2 separate regions of the Homo sapiens genome follow, and region 1 is linked to region 2. Evidence: promoter capture Hi-C in human tissues and cell types (Jung and others, 2019). All regions are on one chromosome and are shown on one strand. The core of a region is centred on a gene start or on the middle of the fragment in contact, and the rest is flanking DNA. Distances in the headings are between cores, read along the strand shown. Region 1 overlaps PTCSC2 (papillary thyroid carcinoma susceptibility candidate 2). Region 2 holds the start of FOXE1 (forkhead box E1).

What was found. The method cuts DNA at HindIII sites, captures the fragments that hold promoters and counts their contacts. A contact is called where the count stands out against the background at its distance.
Region 1: a contact is called between a fragment that was not itself captured here and the fragment with the promoter of FOXE1 in region 2, in 7 of the 25 tissues and cell types used here (IMR-90 fibroblasts, aorta, heart right ventricle and 4 more).

Annotation. Positions count from the first base shown.
Region 1 is chr9:97,766,161-97,772,795 of GRCh38, forward strand. All of the region lies in intron 5 of PTCSC2 (papillary thyroid carcinoma susceptibility candidate 2), which reads right to left. Among named protein-coding and RNA genes, the nearest start is that of XPA, 72 kb to the left of the region's middle. RefSeq lists enhancers at 5,723-6,224, 6,225-6,635. The HindIII fragment of the contact is 8,607 bases long and covers 1-6,635 here.
Region 2 is chr9:97,849,575-97,855,853 of GRCh38, forward strand. FOXE1 (forkhead box E1) reads left to right here and starts at 3,652. Exons shown (of 1, transcript NM_004473.4): 1 at 3,652-6,279. The coding sequence starts at 4,341. The coding sequence ends at 5,462. PTCSC2 (papillary thyroid carcinoma susceptibility candidate 2) reads right to left here and starts at 3,506. Exons shown (of 11, transcript NR_147055.1): 1 at 3,342-3,506. RefSeq lists an enhancer at 2,119-2,620. The HindIII fragment of the contact is 9,888 bases long and covers 1-6,279 here.

The DNA of each region.
Region 1 (6,635 bases), core at 1,341-3,840, 84 kb before region 2:
GGTTCTCTGGACTGCTGTCATGGGATGGACTAAAGTGAGGTGGTGCTGAATGCAGGAAGTCAGTCCAGCTGTCAGCCCAGCACCAGTAAAATCAGCAGACACCCCAGCCCAGGAATGCCAAGGCATGAGTCAGGACTAAGTTTTCGGTCAGAAGGGTGAAGAAAAGAAGGGTGTGTTGTCAGAGGGAGACTCTTGGGGATTTTGCCAAAGGAGGATCTTGGGGCCCTGAGGCCTTCTGTGCAGGAAAGGCAGGGAGACAAGACTCTGTGAGTTGGAGGTGGAGGGAGGGGCCCCCAGTGCCATACCCTTTACATGTCCTGAATGGTGCAAGGCAGGTTGGGTGAACAGGACCCTCACTAGGACTGACCTTGAAGCTCTTCGCTCCGTCAGCTCACCAGTCATTGCTTGGTGATGGGAACAGAGTGTGGGATTTGGTTTCCCCAGCCTCACCTCAGTCTGAATTCTCCAAACACTCTATGCTGTTTCTTGCCTTCAAGCTTTGGCTCTGCTCTTCCCTCTTCAAAAAGGCTTTCTCCCACCCAGGCCTCCTAACTCATCCTTCACAGTACAGCCTTCGCAGTCCCAACTGAGTGAATAGCTTCCTCCTTCTGCTCCCACACAGCTGGAGGGCTGCACGCCTCCCTTTGGGTTGTAGTTTCTATCCACATGCTTATCTGTCCCTCTCACACAATGAGCTGGGGGCTCTCGGGAGCTGGGACCATATCTTGTTCATCTTGGTGGCCTCCACAGTGTCCAGCACAGCATAAGTCAACAACACCTGCTAAGAAAGGAGGATAGGAAAGGTGGAAAGAAGAGAGGCTCCTGTCACTTCTTCTAGAGCTGAGTTGTCCAGTATGGTAGCCACCAGCCACATGTGGCTATTTAAATTTAAACTAATTGGGCCAGGTGCAGTGGCTCACGTCTGTAATCCCAGCATTTTGGAAGGCCAAGGCGGGTGCATCACCTGAGGTCAGGAGTTCGAGACCAGCCTGACCAATATGGTGAAACCCCATCTTTACTAAAAATACAAAAATTAGCTAGTCATGGTAGCATGTGCCTGTAGCCCCAGCTACTCAGGAGGCTGAGGCAGGAGAATTGCTTGAAGCTGGGAGGCGGAGGTTGCAGTGAGTCGAGATTGCGCCACTGCACTCCAGCCTGGGCAACAGAGGGAGACTCTGTCTCACAAAAAAAAAAAAAAAAAAAAAAAATTAAACTAACTAAATAAAAGTTAAAATTTAGTTCCTCAGTCACACTAGCCTCAAAGGCCTCAATAACCCTATGTAGCTACTGGCTACTGATTGGACAACACAAACATAGAACATTTCCATCATTGTAGAAAGTCCTTTTCTAGAAACTCAAACTATGGCTGCAGAACTAAGAGGGGCAGACCATCTGCTACAAACACCATTCTTTTCCAACCCAGCACCCAGCACTAGGCCAGACACAGCCTCCTTCCTCCTCTCTCTCCTTCCTTTCCACCCATCTTTCTCCACACCCCTTTCCAGGAGCAGATCATAATCCCGGAAGAGACAACCTTGAACACCATAATCCCAAATATTGAAAAATCCTGAAGGATCAAAATCCCAAAAACACAATTCTGGAAAAAATAATTTAAAAATTCTTGAAAAGATATTTATTTACATCTTTAAAAGAAGATTTATTTGAGAAACACAAAAACACATAGGCCACTTTACACAATAAAATAGGCAATAATATCATACATATTTTTGCAAGCATAAATACTCAAGTGTACTAACAACAGTTATACAAGTATGACAGTTATGAGCAGATGTACTATATTCATAAAGAAATAGGTTACAAATGGAAATGTATAAATGCATACCACCATAGTTAGTAGTTGTAGGCACCCAGATTTATAACGGCAGTCATCTGAAATACCATGATGAACATCCTAAGTCTTTTGATGACATCAATAAAAAACCATGGTGCGTCACCACCAAATATGCAGTCACCCAAAGGGCCAAGATCTCAAGAAATGTTATTTTTACAAATGCAGATGTACAAAAAAGGACATATTTTCCTTTACTGAGGAAGCTTCAATGTTTTTACATACATGTACAATGCTTACACACAAGCCAACATTGTGATGCTGTACTTTCATGGAGTCAAATTTGTAAAAGCTGCATAAAACAAATTAGAACTCTGAAAGCCTCTATACAATTTATACTACAAGTATTGGAAATGATGCAAAGATGAGATATGAAGGGTAGTGAATTGTAAAAAATAATACTGACAATTTTAAATAGTAGGGGGAAAACCCCAAAAGATTTAAAAACTAAAAAGAAAATTTGACATATTGAAAAGTGTATTATAGGGATAGATTATGGGCAATTGCACAGAGATAGTCCATAAGAGCTAGCTGATTTTCATGATTATTAACTATGTTTTGAAGTCTTGCATCATGATAAATAGCTGCTTATTATTTTTTTGGACACAGATCTCCTTGGAAAATACATTCACATTCATTTTCTATGTGGCACTGCTCTTTTTGAAATCCTTCTATGATACAATACACACTGACATTAGCATTTCCTATTAAATTTTCCAATCTTTTGAGCCCTGCTTCTGTGTTGTTTTGAGTACTCCAAAATGCATTCCACAAGCGTGCATATACAGACCACAAATTTGGTGGAAACGATAATGGCGATCAAACAGTAACACATTGTAACACCATTGGCTGTCTCCTTATCCTACCACGAAAATAATTGTTTTCAAACTAGTCAATAACGTCACCAGCTTCTTCAGGCAAATGTGGCTTTAATTCATTAAAAGCTCCTGGAATGTCATCAGCTAGAAGGAATGTCAATGCAGGCCAAGGAAACATTCTTAAACAGAAGTTTTCATAACTGCAATATTGCTTGGCCAAACAACTCATCTGAATTTTCCACCAGATGCAAATAAAGACAACAGCAAGGTAATAGTTCCGCCTAACGTGATGCAACTAACATAATGTAACTGCTCTGTGTGCAACCGAAACCCCCACTAATCCCACCTCCAGAATTCAGCTTTCAGGATGATGGTGTTTGGGATTGTGTTTTTTTGGATTAAGATCCAAAAGCCACTCTTCCTGTCCCCCAACAGGGTCAAGTGAGTCAAACGAGTCATTCACAGCAGCTTCAGAGTTCACAAAGCCTTTTTACAGTTTGCGTATCTCCAACCCTTCGCTACAATCCTAGACAGCAAGGAGGGAAGGAATTATGATTTTCATTTTACAGGTGAGGAAATCAGAACTCAGAGAGGTTGTGACTTGCCCAAGATTTCCCAACAGGCAAATGTCAGAGCCTGGATCAGACTTCAGACTCAGGCCCCCTCTTTTTCTCCAGTGCCGTGTCACCTCTCACTAAGGGGTCATCTAATCCAGCCTGCTATCTGATATACTAATGCCTTCAACAACGTCCCTGTCCAGTGACTATCCAGCTTCTGCCTAAACACTCCCCAAGACACGAGCCTCACTACCATTCCCTGAAGCAGCGAGATGCATCTTTAGACAGCTCTGCCAGAAAACACTTGCTCAGTCAGGGTCAAAATCAGCCGTCTTGTAACACTCCTGTCTGAGACCTCAGTAATCATGCCATGCAGCCATTCAAATGCCTTCTGCGACACAGATGCCGGCCCACTTCCAGCATCTGCTCGCTCACCTCCAGTTTGGGGAATTCAACACCACTCAAGCCGACCCTTTCCTTCTTTGAGTATTTAAAAATCATCCTCCCTCCCGCAACTCCTCCCCACTGGCTTTGTCCTCTGTGGCCCCCACAGACCACATCTGTTCCTTCTGCCCCAGGGTAGCCCCTCAGAGACAACGACCATGCCCCTAAGTTTTATTTTTCTTCTGGCTGCAGCCTTAACAGGTCACCAGGGACGGGATGCTCTGTCCTGCTAGCCTGACTTCCTCTACTTCCCTTTCCCCTGAGCACATGGACCCCCACATTTCCACAGGAGGCCAACGTCATGTCTATAATAACAACTACTGCCATACACTGTGTGTTCACCATGTGCCAGGCACCTTAATGAGTGCTCTGCTTGTATTCCATCTTCAATAACTCTGCATTATTATTCCCATTAGACTGCCTATGTATACATGGCTGTCACTCTGGGTTGAGGGGACAACTGCAGGAATCTGAAGGATGGATGTGACCAGAAACAACCCAGGTTTGAACCTGTGTCAGTCCCAAGACTCCAGGCCCCAAGGAAGGTGGAGGAGTTCAGAGGTATACAGAATCTGATTATGGGCACAGACCACAGGGGCAAAAGACTTGGGTTTAAATTGTAACCGTTTACCGACTATGTGACTTTGGGCAAGTCACTTCACCTCTCTCAGCCTCCATTTCTTCATGTTTAAAATGGAGCCAGTAGCAGGGAGCTAGTAGTATGGAGCCCACATGTTGCAGTAAGGAGACAATGAATGCTGGCTCAGTGCTCAGCCATGGAAGCTAACACCAACATTGTCATCAATATTATTACAGAGAGATCATACCCAGGGCTGAGGCTGGTGCATGTCATAGTCTTGTCCCCCCTACACACACACACTGAGCCTGGTCAGACACAGTGTCTTCCTGCACCCCCACGCACCTTCCAGCAAATGCCTGAAACCTGAGGTGGGTGCAGATGGGCTATATGAGGGAGGGGTGTGAGAAGCCTGAGGGGGCATGGCTTGTAATGAACTGGGCATCACTCAAACTTCTCTACAGTAAAGAGAAAGGGCAATGGACAGGAAATAAAGGGTGAAAGAGAGTGAGGAGATAGAAAGAAAAAGACTGAAAATGCTGCCATCTCACTGCTAATGAAAGCATGGCTTCAGGCAAGTTATTTTCCCTTCTGAGCCTCCATGTGCAACTCTGTCAAATGGGCTAGTAACTCTGTCTGAGCCTCCATGTGCAACTCTGTCAAATGGGCTGACTGGGGTGAGGATGAAGTGAGGTGCTGCACCTGGAAGCCCCCAGCCAAGGTGTAGCCCACAGGAGCCCTCAGGGAAGCTCTGCTCCTGGGCAGGGAGAGCTCTGTCCAGCACGGCAATCCACAAGAACAACAATATAATCAGAACAACATGATGCCTACTGTTTTCCAAATACTGTGTGGGGCCAGTCCTCACAGCAACCTTTGAGGAAGGTGTCATTATCCTCACTTACAGGTGAACAAACTGACAGTTAAGCAGGAAGCAGGTAACATGTACAAAGTCACCCAGTAAGCCAAGATGCCAGGACTGGCACCTGGGTCTGGCTGATGCCAAATTTTGTTCCCCGAAAATCAAACTGTGGATCCCCTGTGAGCCAGGCACTGGGTGTGAGAGCCTTTCCATAAATCTTCCCTCCTAGCCCAAGGATCACCCTGGACCACTTCCACTGGGGATGATGGAGGAAGACTAGACAGAAGCCCAGTGCCCTGAGTTCTGGTCCCCTCTCTGCTACAAGACGCTGCATGGTCACAGGCTACTCCTTCCTGCTCCTCAGCCTCAGTTTCTTTATCTGTATCATGGAGGTCCTGGAAGTCCGGACTTTCAGGGTTTTCTGACTAACACTGAGATTGCGCACACAGTAGCAGGAAGTTGGAGGAGGAAAGTCATCTTAATGGGAGCAGAGTACTGCATTCCTCTATCCCTTAATAACCACTAATTAGTTAATCCCTGTAGCAGCAAAGTGAGTTATCAGGTATTATTAGCCCCAATTTACAAGCAGGAGGTTGAAGGAGAGAAGAACTGACAGAGGGATTGGTCCCAGGCTCTAGGCAGAGTTGGGATCAGTGAAAACCCAACAGACACTACAAATTGCTTCAAGATTGGGGGAGGAGCAGCAGAGAAGCGAGGGAGGCCTCAAAGGGGAGGAACCACACAGGAAGGTGCTTCTGATCCTCATGAAGTTGAGGTCCCTCTGAGGGCACCTGGGCCTGCTCTGTCTATGCACAGATGTGTGGACCTAGGCCCAGAGATGGAGAGAGACTGGCCCAAGGTCACACAGCCAAAAGTGCAGACAAGGAGTGCAGAGCTCCATCGGTTCTCAGCTGAGGCTGTTCTGATGGGGGTTGGGGCGATGGCTTCTAAGAGCTGAGCTTCTTCCATGGCCCTCCCTGAATTCCTAGAGAAGCAGCCAGCTGTAAGCCCCCAGGGATGGTGTGTGTACTAATGGCCTGTGACAAAGGCAGAGGATAAGCTCCCTGCTCTGCAGACTAAACAAGGCACAAGAAGCCAAGTCAAACAAAAGCTGAGGTTTTGTGTCGGCCCAGCTGGTGGGCTAGAAGCGGCCCAGCCTCTTGGGAGGCCAGGCCCTGAGCCATCACCTGGAATCTCCTCTGGTGGCCTTTCTCCCTTTTGCCACTGAGGGCTGCACAGAAGCATGTCCACAACACATGTCCTCACTCTGTGACCAACCCTGCTTTGTAGCACACAATGCACTTTCATCACAAGGCCCCAAGATGACAAAACTGAGGCTCAGAGAGGGGAAGGAAGATGCTTACCCCAAGTCACATAGCAAGTTAGGCAGGAGACTGGGCACAAGACCTCCTGACTTCCGCACCACCACAACCCTCAAATTTTTTTTAATGAGTGTTTTTCTTTAAAACATAGTATGAACACTGGAACAGAGGGAAATGCAGTATTCCAATTTCCATCCACAGTGTTGTCC
Region 2 (6,279 bases), core at 2,402-4,901:
GTGACAGTGTCTTGCTCTGATGCTCTCTAGGGCCATACAGCCCACTGACCCAGACAGAATGCACTGGAGTAACCTAAACAGGTCACTGCGATGCTGCTGTAAGGAGATCCTTGGATCAGATTTGCAAGTGTGGACGCCTGGAGTTTTGTTGTTCAGTAAAAAGGGCAGCCCAGGCCAAAGAATTAAGTACAAGTAAGGCTCTGAGAACTCAAGAAAAGACAGAGAGGCTTTGGGGCCAAAGAGTAAGGCCCAAAGACCTGAGTTTCCTTCTCAGCCCAAGGCTTTTCTCTCTACAAGTCCCTTCCACAATCCAGGCCCAGTCTCCTTCCAGCTTGAATTTCCATGGTTTCTTTAATAGAAGAACTGGTTACCTCTGCGTCTGCATGCAGGGGAATCTCCGTCAAGGAATCTGGAGGAATTTTCCTTGACTCCTTGGACCCCTCTCGTTTTTATTTACAAAGTCGCCCATTCAAAACTGAGGAAAGCAGCTGTTGCAGAAGAACATCTTCTAAAGATTCCCAATAGCACCTCCAGCCCCCTATGCACATAAAATGGCCTGCTGCAGGCTGGCTTCTCCAGGGGTGCTGGGAATACTTGAAGGGCTGAAGATCAGTGGGAAGCAGAAATCACTGGCCTGCCCACATCAACACCAACCCACCCCTGCTGGATTGGGAGAATGATTTCCAAGGGTCTGGAACCTGCCCTTCCTAACTTCCAGATGATTCATAAACGTTAAGGAGCACTGTGGCAGAGAAGAGGGGAGGACTTGGCCATGACCATGTTCCTTCTCAAGAAACTGAGAAGGAAGCAATGGGAAGAGATAGGAAATGCCCCGAGGAGATTTTTGTGTATGGTTTTGATCCAAACGGGTAAACTTGTGACCTGTGTACTCACCAAATCATTTAATGTGAACTCACTGTGGACTCACAGAATCTTCAAATGCATTATTCAAAGAGAACATTTATGAAATAGAAATTTAGGGGTCCTTGGTTTGCGAAAATCTTAGAATCATGATCTTGGAAATTCTAATCTCATGATGCTAGGTATTTGGTCTCGGCCACAGGAGTAGCTTGATATTAACAAAGTTTGAGAAAACCATCAGAATTCTAGAAGAATGAGGTCACAGACACAAGACACTGAAGAACAGAAAATCCTGAGACAAGAAGGCTTTTAGCCATAGTCGTTGCAGCTTAAAAGTAGAGGATCATAAAGTCATGGGACTAATCATTACAGCATATAATCACAAACATTAGAAGAATTATTGGAATCAGATTATTTGAACTACAGAATAGCAGATCCAGCACTAACATTTTAGAATTAAGGAAGGAGAGAACTGCGGATTTACAGGATTCAAATTCTTCCAATCAGACATTCCTAAACAGGAATTCAAATTAAATAATATATAACTTAGAGTGGAAAAAATAAAAAACTGGAGAAGTGGCAGCTTCAAGAGTGGCATCATATTTTCAGGCACAAAATCTTAGGTCCCCGTTTTTTGTTTGTTTTGTTTTGCTTTTAAGAGACCGGGTCTCCCTTTGCTGCACAGGCTGGAGTGCTGTGGCTACTCACAGGCACAATGATTGTGCACTACAGCCTGGAACTCCTGGGCTCAAGCGATCTTCCTGCCTTAACCTCCAGTAGCTGGGACTACAGGCTCCCGCCACCGTGCCTGGTTTAGTCCCAGTATCTTAATACATAGGTTTTTAGACTTTGACTAGAAGCTTAAGTCAAAGGAATATAAGCATAGTCAAAGTTAGACTCCCAGTCTTGGAATCTTAGAATTACAGGGTCGCAGGATCGCAGGATCGCATTCTTTAGATTTATGGAATCACGTTAGGACAACGGTCGTCCAGAATTTAAAATCTAGATATCTGAATCTCAGAATCTTGAAAGTTACTGAGAGCCACGAAATCCCGTATTAAAAGGTGCCTATAATATAATCCAGTTAAAAATTTTAAAATTTGAAGTTTTTCCTCCTTTGTAAAAACGAAACAGGACGAAATCTGGGTTTTTTGCTTCTCCATTACTTGGGAAGAAGGAAACCAGGAGTTTTGTTTAGCGAGTGTAAAGCCCCTCTCCCTTCGTTCGACCAACCCTCTGCCGCAGAAGGTTGTCAAGCAAACGCTTTGAGCGTTTCCACACACCGGGTCGACGGAGCAAGGATCTGGGCTTTGCCTCGCTCTTCCGAAGGCAGCTGCCCAACGCTTGGCCGGGCTTAGCCTGCCCTCAGCTCACCGCCACGAAGAACGCGACTAAAACCCTGGAAGGCATGCCACCCGTTACTGGCCAGAACTCTCGTCTTGGGATCTCCCACACTCACCTGGCACCACCATCCGCGCGGCTCTGCACCCACAGCCCCGGCCCGCCCCCCCCCCCCACCCCGGAAAGCTGCGTCCGGGCTGGAGCCACTGGAACCCGCGCCAAGGCCCGGAATCCTATACGTAGCAGGGGCCTCGGAGATCAGCACACGCCCTCCAGCTGCTATTTAACAGAGTAGAACACTGAGGCCCTGCGAGGGGACAAGGACAGGCCCTGGATCTCCCAGTGAATGGCCAGGGAACGAACCCGGGCCAGAGGGGCCGCGCCGCGAGGATCTCAGGTTAGGACCAAGTTCCGGCTCAGGGACAGCAGGAAAGGAACTCAGAAATTGGACACCCATGAAGCAAACGTGTCCCGACTGCCCGCCCCTTCCCCCGGAGACGCGCCCACCCGGCCACCGCTCTCTTCCCACTCCCCCATTACCCGCAGCCCTCACTCCCCGCTGCGGGAAGGGGCTGCTTGGCTGCCTCTGGGGGTCTTCAGAGCTACCCTGGTCCCGGGGGATTGGAGGAGGAGGTTACCTATCCTGCGTCGTCTTTAATCCGTGCACCACTATCCATCAAATAGAGACAGATCCTGGGCCTCTCAAAGACGGATGATTGGGGGTGGTGATTGGCCTATCCCTAAATATCTACCACGCAAGGACTCTTGAGAGATCCAGACCCCGGTACAGTCGAGGGACCTGGGGCCCAAAAAGGGAAAGCGGCTACCTCTACCACACAGTTGGGAAGCGCAGTCCTAAAGGAGACGCAGGTTGGAGACTCCGCTAAGCGGAGAAGCCGCAGTGGGGCCATGGCAAGTCACCTTCCCTTTCGGGCCTAGGAATACTCATTCGAAAGATGGGGGGACTGGAGTGCCGAGTGGCTGTGGCAGCCACGATTGGGGTTTGGAAACCATCCTGAAAGGCCCGGGGAGCCAGTCTCCTGGAACTTCTCCCTCCCCATTCCCACAAAAACCAAGCGCCCTCTCGGCCAATTCTCACCCTCTCAGGACAAAAAAGTGAGATGAGCCCGTCCTTTCACCTGCGAGTCCAAGCCCTTGGCAGAGGCCTGAAAAGTCCGAAAACTCCGAGTTCGGGCGCTGAGGTCTCCCGAGCCGGTTCCTGAACTCTCCGGGCCTCAGTCGATCGGGGTGCGGAGGGGGCCGACCCGGGGGATCTCCAAGCGCCCTCCCCGCCCTGACGCTGTGGGGCTCCTACCGCGCCGCCACAGCTGCTCCTACCTGGGGAGGTGCGCCCGGGCCCCGGGGGGCGGGCAGTCGGGGGGCGGGCAGGGAACCGGTGCCGCCCCACGCTTCGTGGCCCCTTTAAGGAGGGGAAGCCGGCGGAGGGAGGAGCCGGTCCGGTGTGTGCAGGGGAGCGCCTCGCCAGCGGTCCGCAGGGCTGGAGACCCACGCCGTGGAGAGGACCAGCCTCAGGTCGCCCCGCCTGGGCCCGCGCCCCGACCTCGCTGCCCCCGCCTCGCCTCTCTGCCCGTGGCGCTTACGGCCACCTTGGCCTCGGGGGCAGGGCATGGGCGGCCCCCGCCAGATCGCCCAGCGCCAGTACTAACTGCCCTCGCTCTGGCCTTCGAGCCCGAAGCCTCTTCTGCGCGCACAACCTAGGCAGTAATCCTAAACTAGCGGGCACCACAGACCAGCTGCAGCCACCCCAACCCAGGGATCACTTCCGGACCCCTCGACCGCCCGGCACCAGCGCGCAAGGGACCCTTCAGCCGGAGACCAGAGTCCAGTCCCGGTCACGAGGCCACCGCCGCTGCCCGCCTCGAGAAGCACCACGCGGGCTGAGCCGTCGGCTAGCGGGTCACTCCCGAGCCTCTGTCTGCACCGCGCCAGCCCCAGACCACGGACGCTGAGCCTCCAGCGCGTGCCAGCCTGGGCCGCTGGGCTCTCGGGGCCAGCCCGCGACGATCCCCTGAGCTCTCCGCAGAAGGGCCGAGCGTCCGTTCCGGGGACGCCAGGCCCGCCCCCGCCCCCCGACAGCCGCGGGGATCCAGAGCCCGGGGGTGCGGGACGCCCGCGCCATGACTGCCGAGAGCGGGCCGCCGCCGCCGCAGCCGGAGGTGCTGGCTACCGTGAAGGAAGAGCGCGGCGAGACGGCAGCAGGGGCCGGGGTCCCAGGGGAGGCCACGGGCCGCGGGGCGGGCGGGCGGCGCCGCAAGCGCCCCCTGCAGCGCGGGAAGCCGCCCTACAGCTACATCGCGCTCATCGCCATGGCCATCGCGCACGCGCCCGAGCGCCGCCTCACGCTGGGCGGCATCTACAAGTTCATCACCGAGCGCTTCCCCTTCTACCGCGACAACCCCAAAAAGTGGCAGAACAGCATCCGCCACAACCTCACACTCAACGACTGCTTCCTCAAGATCCCGCGCGAGGCCGGCCGCCCGGGTAAGGGCAACTACTGGGCGCTTGACCCCAACGCGGAGGACATGTTCGAGAGCGGCAGCTTCCTGCGCCGCCGCAAGCGCTTCAAGCGCTCGGACCTCTCCACCTACCCGGCTTACATGCACGACGCGGCGGCTGCCGCAGCCGCCGCCGCCGCCGCCGCCGCCGCCGCCGCCATCTTCCCAGGCGCGGTGCCCGCCGCGCGCCCCCCCTACCCGGGCGCCGTCTATGCAGGCTACGCGCCGCCGTCGCTGGCCGCGCCGCCTCCAGTCTACTACCCCGCGGCGTCGCCCGGCCCTTGCCGCGTCTTCGGCCTGGTTCCTGAGCGGCCGCTCAGCCCAGAGCTGGGGCCCGCACCGTCGGGGCCCGGCGGCTCTTGCGCCTTTGCCTCCGCCGGCGCCCCCGCTACCACCACCGGCTACCAGCCCGCAGGCTGCACCGGGGCCCGGCCGGCCAACCCCTCCGCCTATGCGGCTGCCTACGCGGGCCCCGACGGCGCGTACCCGCAGGGCGCCGGCAGTGCGATCTTTGCCGCTGCTGGCCGCCTGGCGGGACCCGCTTCGCCCCCAGCGGGCGGCAGCAGTGGCGGCGTGGAGACCACGGTGGACTTCTACGGGCGCACGTCGCCCGGCCAGTTCGGAGCGCTGGGAGCCTGCTACAACCCTGGCGGGCAGCTCGGAGGGGCCAGTGCAGGCGCCTACCATGCTCGCCATGCTGCCGCTTATCCCGGTGGGATAGATCGGTTCGTGTCCGCCATGTGAGCCAGCGTAGGGACGAAAACTCATAGACACATCGGCTGTTCACACGTTCCCCGCAATCTGAGAACGAACAGGAATGGAGAGAGGACTCAACTGGGACCCACGTGGAAAAGACCGAGCAGGCCACAGAGGCTCGGTCTCCCCGCGCACAGCGTAGGCACCCGGTGTACTCTGTAAACGGGAGGAGGTGGGGCGAGGCAGCCAGAGCCCTTGGACTGGCACAGGGACCCTCGATGGAGCGAAGCCCTCAAACGGGATGCTTTCTGGTATTCTATCGGGGAGGGTCCTTGGCGGTAACCAGAGGGCAGCGTAGTGTCAACACCAGAGACCAGGATCCAAATTGTGGGGAATCAGTTTCAGCCTTCCATGTGCTGCCGGAACTCGGGCCTTTTTACGCGGTTCGTCCTCTAGTGCCTTTAACTGCGTTACTACAATAAAAGGCTGCGGCAGCGCCTTTCTTCTTAAAGTGAGGAGGACAAATTTGCAAAAGAAATAGGCTTTTCTTCTTTTTTAAATTGGAGAAATCTCTGCTCTGGTTGACCTGGGCTGGTTTTCCCTGTCTCTGAGAACTTGAGACCTAGCTCCGAGTTGAACTGTGCGTCAGCACTCCAGTCCCATCACCTGAACCTTCAGTCTCCCCCATCTGTTACACTAGAGGGCTGCAGGACTCTATCCACCGCCCCCGGGTTATCATTCAGGGCCCCATCATCTTGGATGCTGCCCTGCGTATTTGGCAGCAATGGTGGGCCACCCAGGGCCTCTGAGTAGCCACCCAAAGCCTAGCCGCTGTTCTAGGGAACGGAAAAGAGTTCATGGCCAA